2 separate regions of the Homo sapiens genome follow, and region 1 is linked to region 2. The links are contacts of gene promoters, found by promoter capture Hi-C in blood cells and fetal thymus (Javierre and others, 2016). All regions are on one chromosome and are shown on one strand. Each heading gives the region's core, a stretch centred on a gene start or on the middle of the fragment in contact. The rest is flanking DNA. Distances are from core to core; before and after follow the strand shown.

Region 1 (2,700 bases), core at 31-2,530, 770 kb before region 2:
ATGTGTTAAGAGCAAATCAGTCATATTTTCTTAGTTTAAACTGAAACGAACAAAAACTTGGAGAGGACAGAAAGTTAGGATCTGCTATACAGAAAGCTGTATTCTAATAGATTTCTCTTTTCAAGTATAGCGTTAGCATTGTTTGTTGGAGGCAGAAACCAGAATATGCTGCCACATTATTTAAGACTGATAATTGCTGCTAGATTTTTTTAAGAGGTGTTCTCTGATTTTTAAAAATAGAAATTAAAATTTAATATTTTTGCAGGTATCTGATGGTATAATTGCCCCAGGATATGAAGAAGAAGCCTTGACAATACTTTCCAAAAAGAAAAATGGAAACTATTGTGTCCTTCAGGTGAGTGCAATTCATGTTTGAAGCGGTAATTTGCTCTTTTATTCTGTGTCTCTTTCTCCCTTGTTTACTCTTTCCTTTATACTCATACCCTTCTAGTTTATCCTTATTATAGTTTATTTTCCCCAATCCTGCATTTAAAAAAATACTATTAACTTGGGGTTTTGAGATGAGAGTAGCTTTCTTACCCTCAATTTTAACTTTTTGCTGGTTGTGATGGCTCATGCCTATAATTTCAGCCACTTGAGAGGCTGATGTGGGAGGATGGCTTGAGGCCAAGAATTGGAGGCTGTATTGTGGTACTATGATGCCTGTGAATAACGACTGCACTCCAGCCTTGGCAGTGTAGTAAGACCATGTCTCTAAAATACTAATAATAGTAACAATATTTAATGGAAAGTCTCTCCATCCTTCTGTTACCTTTTGAAAAGATAACTATTTTAAATTTCTTGCTTATCTTTCCTGAAATAGTCTATGTATTCAGCAAATATTTGCATGTGCATTTCTTTTTCTATTTTCCTATTGACACAAGTGCACCCTGCTTCACCTTCTTGGAAGTTTGTCCTGTATCTGTGTATTTTAACTTACCTAGACAGTCACCAATCTTTAGCTACTACAAATACCCCTGCAGTGAATAACCTAGAAAAGTCCTGAGAGTGAAATTAAGGCTTAATAACAAGCTCTATGTATATTGGTAATCTTAATTGATACTGCCCCTTTTAGATGTTGTAGGCAAATTCATTGTCCTAACTGAAATATATAAGGATGCCTGTTTCCCAACACTTTTGTCAGCATTGTGGTTTTATACTTTTAAAAAGTCTCTGCAGTTAGAAAATGGCATCTCAATGTAGTTTTAACATTGTGTGTGGTATGAGCATCTTTTCATGTTTGAATGTTTTTATTCCTTTCTATGAACTGTCTTTCCATATTCTTTGATGATTTTTCTACTAAGTTGTTGTTGGCTTTTTTTTTTTTTTTAACTGATTTTTATGAGCTCTTCTGTATTGGGAAAAGTAGCTCATGGTCTAAGATTATGCATTGATAAAGCAAAGAGTTATTTCAATTTAAAGTAAAAATTCCTAATGCTACTTTTCATAGTATTGATATCAGAACTCTGTGGAATCCTAATTCCTTACAAGGAAAGTTATTAAGTATATTCTTTTGATTGTAAGATACCAATAATTTTATAGTTCACCATAGATTCCATGTCAGCTATTTAAGGAAAGAAGAGAATACCACATTAAAGTTAATACTTATTTTTTTTTAGCCACTTGACAGTCTGTTGCCCAGGCTAGAGTGCAGTGGTGTGATCTTGGCTCACTGCAACCTCTGCCTCCTGAGTTCAAGCGATTTTCCTGCCTCACCCTCCCAAGTACCTGGGACTACAGGCATGTACTACCAGGCCTGGCTGAGTTTTGTATTTTTAGTAGAGACAGGGTTTCACCATGTTGGCCAGGCTGGTCTCAAACTCCTGACCTCAAGGGATCTGCCCGCCTCGGCCTCCCAAAGTGTTGGGATTACAGGCGTGAGCCACCGCGCCTGGCCCCCAGTTTCTTAATCAAGTTTTTTTTTTGTTGTTGTTGTTAAGAGTGTTATGTACTTAACAACCATTAGCATTTTCTTGTAGCATCATGGAAAATATTTTCCAAAACCTGAGTCATTTTCTTGATCTCTTTAACACCTGATAGTTGGAGAGTGTCAAAGGAATATCAGGACTTCATTGGTATTTTACTTATTTGAGAATTTGGCTTAGTTTGCACATTGGACGCATGATTATAAGCATGAGACAACTTATCCCTCTACCTGACTAATGATAAGTTTCTCCTAGCATCAGTTAATAGGAGAGCATATCAATTTTAGAAATTTTATAGTGCATAATACAAAGGAACATTTTAGAATTCAAGAAAATGTAGATTAAACAGAACTAATATTTACGGGGTCTTGCTTATAAATTATATGTCAGGGCTTTCTAAATCAAAGATCATCCAAAGCATAAAGAAGAAATAGTGTCAAGTTTAAAAAAATATCCAGGGAGAGAGTAGTGTTACACGTATTGTTCCACACACCTTAATGTTCTTTCGGCTCAAAATTTGGGAGAGGAAGATGGCAGTAAATGATACAAATTCCTTCCAAATAGCAAAGACACAGATTACAAATCCTGTTTTCTCACTTTTAGCTTTCAATTCCTGGGTTAGCTGGGTATTTTGTAACAGATTTTTAGAAAGGAAAATTAGAATTTAATTTTTGTGCCATTGCTTATTTAATTAGCACATCTGTTTTATCTGCTGACCTTCCAAAAGAACCATATAGGTAGTAACTTAACCAAAAATACACTCACTGGAATCATT
Region 2 (2,700 bases), core at 178-2,677:
GGAGATTTAGCTGACAACCTCACAGATCTTCCCCGCCCCTTCTGCCGAGCTGATCTTTCTCTTGGAAATCTTACCCGCAGGGAAGGGCGAGTGTCCGTGCCTGCCTGCCTGCCTGCTGCAGCCCGCGCAAAGCTGAGCGGCCAGGGCGCTGCTGTTCCTTTAAAGTATTATTAAAAATAATATTTCAGCTTTTAAGTAACTCCTTGAGTTTGAATCAAAAGCTGGAAGAACCTCCTGGGCTCTATGAGCACCTCTGAATATGTCTGACTCTACATTCTAGAGGCTTCAATGTATTTATAATTTTGGCTCATAGATTCTCCACATCTTTTCAGCTTCAATTCTTGCTTTTCCCAGAAACAATTTTCAAGCAGGAGAGAATATTGATTGGACTTGATTTTCTCAGTTTGGGCAGAGGTTTGCAGACACTTTGCAGGTTGCCAGACCCTTCGTCCAGCCACCTGTCAGCTGGGGGTCATATGGTATAGAAAGCAGTCATTTCTATGCAAGGTACTGCTTGGGCCTGCCTCCCTCAAAGGGGTAGGGGATGCGGGCTGGACAAAGGGCTCGTGATCAAGTAAAGCACTGTGATGACAGCTGCTATTTCTATATCTCCCTAGACTTGTCTTCTAAATTAAACCTTGACTCCTCCCTTCCAAGCTGGAGCCACTGCTAACTACTGGGAGAGCCTTAGCAGATAAAGTCTCATGCCTCCAGGCGTTTGTGCATCCCATTTTCTCTGCAGAGTAGAATCTCCCTTCTACTTTTGTGCTCCTGGGGACGTCCTACTCTTCTTCCCCAGTTGGCTCTAAGGTTATCACATCGGTGAAGTGTTTCATTATCACTTTTTAGAAGAAACTGAGTCTTTTAGAGAAGTTAAGTGACTTTCTGCATTCATACTCATACTCAAGAAAATCTAACTCCACAATAACCAAAAATAAAAAGTAGAAAAAAACCCACAAGTGATGAGAAAAAAAAAAATCAAAAGTTATAAAAAATAAATGAAAAAATGAAATTAAAGGAAAAAAGATTTTTTAAAAAAGTAAAAAAAAGAAAAGAAATCTAACTCCAGAGCTCTGACACAAAATGCCTTAGGTGTTATTCTCAATGAGAGAAAAGGGACGTGAATCTTTAAGTGATTAAGTGAATCTTTAAGTAAATCTGTCGTACTAGCGTTTCAGGCGGCTCAAACACCACACGCTCCCGACTACGGCGGAATGGAGAGAATGTGCGCATGCTCGGCGGGAATCTGCGCATGCTCGGCGGGAATCTGCGCATGCTCGGAGAGAATCTGCGCATGCTCGGCCGGAATCTGCGCGAGCTCGGCGGGAATCTGCGCAAGCTCGGCGGGAATCTGCGCATGCTCAGAGTTCCGGGGCACGGTTTCCCCGCCCCTTTCAGGCCTAGCAGGAAACGAAGCGGCTCTTTCCGCTATCTGCCGCTTGTCCACCGGAAGCGAGTTGCGACACGGCAGGTTCCCGCCCGGAAGAAGCGACCAAAGCGCCTGAGGACCGGCAACATGGTGCGGTCGGGGAATAAGGTATAAAGAAAGCCATGGACTTGGGCTTTACCCGGACTGGGGATCCGGAGAGGGTGGTTCGGAAGCAGGAATCGTGGGATCGCGGTCAAGACAAAGAATGGGGCAAGAGAAGATCATGGTGGTGGGCTCAGTCAGGAGGGCCGGGACCGAGGGATGCGCTATGAGAAAAGCTGGAGATTTGGGGCTCCAAGACCTGAATTTGAGCCTCGCTGACTCCACCTCTTCCATTACCCACCCATCCCATCCCTCTTCTCCCTCTCTACCTGCTCTTTGTCTCACCTGCCTCCCCACCCGCCTCCCCTCTCTCTCTCTTTATCCCATTCCACTCCCTAGCCCCACTTCCTCTATTACTTCCGAGCCTGGGTTCTTAAGATCTCTATGAGAATGAAAATTAGCTGTGATAAAGCAACTATCCCACAGGGCTTGTTGTAAAACTTAAGAGAGGGACTATCTGTGACTAAAATAACTTAAACTGTAAAGCGTCGTATTATTAGCTTTATAATAACGTAGTATCCCGCATTTATTGAAAGCCCACTCTGTGAGGGACGGATCTAAACCTTTTATTCTTATCTCATTTAATCTTCACAACCCCTTGAAGTGAAAACTATTTATCCCCATTTTGCAAGTGGGAAAACCGAGGAATAAAGAACTGTGGGCTTTTCCTGGTGAAATCCGGATTTGAATCCAAGCTGTCTGGTTTCAGGGCCCTGGAGAACCCCTGTGTTGCTAGAAATCTATGACCATTGGTGTCCCAGATCAGTAACAGAAATTACAATGAATTTTAAAGTGATTTTTTTTTTTCAACATAAAAGAGTGGTAGTTGTCTCTGAAGGGTCACTAGAGGGAGATGTGGTTCCAGGGATTAATGAATTTATTCAATACAGATAAACAAGATACGAGTTTGAGCAACTGATCCCTAGTTCCCTCAACTCCTCATTGAGAAATGTTGATTAAAACGATCATGAACTTTTAATAATGCCACTCACCTCCTTTTTTCGTCCTCTTTCAGCTGCTGAAAACTTTGTAGCTCTAGTGGAGGAGCTGTTTGTTGCAGATGAACTGGAAGTAAAATTCTAACAGCCTGTATTGCTTCGGTATAGAAATGAAGAGTTGCTATGCTACCCGGTTTCTCTTTCTCAGTTTTCTTACTGCTGCCAGATAGG

Evidence for each region. The method cuts DNA at HindIII sites, captures the fragments that hold promoters and counts their contacts. A CHiCAGO score of 5 or more calls a contact.
Region 1: a contact is called between a fragment that was not itself captured here and the fragment with the promoter of XRCC5 in region 2, in 2 of 17 cell types (total CD8 T cells and naive B cells). The highest score is 6.2, in total CD8 T cells.

Annotation. Positions count from the first base shown.
Region 1 is chr2:215,335,770-215,338,469 of GRCh38, forward strand. ATIC (5-aminoimidazole-4-carboxamide ribonucleotide formyltransferase/IMP cyclohydrolase) reads left to right here. Exons shown (of 16, transcript NM_004044.7): 11 at 266-355. Among named protein-coding and RNA genes, the nearest start is that of ATIC, 25 kb to the left of the region's middle. The HindIII fragment of the contact is 4,008 bases long and covers 1-2,700 here.
Region 2 is chr2:216,107,921-216,110,620 of GRCh38, forward strand. It overlaps XRCC5 (X-ray repair cross complementing 5), which reads left to right and starts at 1,428. Exons shown (of 21, transcript NM_021141.4): 1 at 1,428-1,537. The coding sequence starts at 1,517. RefSeq lists an enhancer at 1,152-1,773. The HindIII fragment of the contact is 16,954 bases long and covers 1-2,700 here.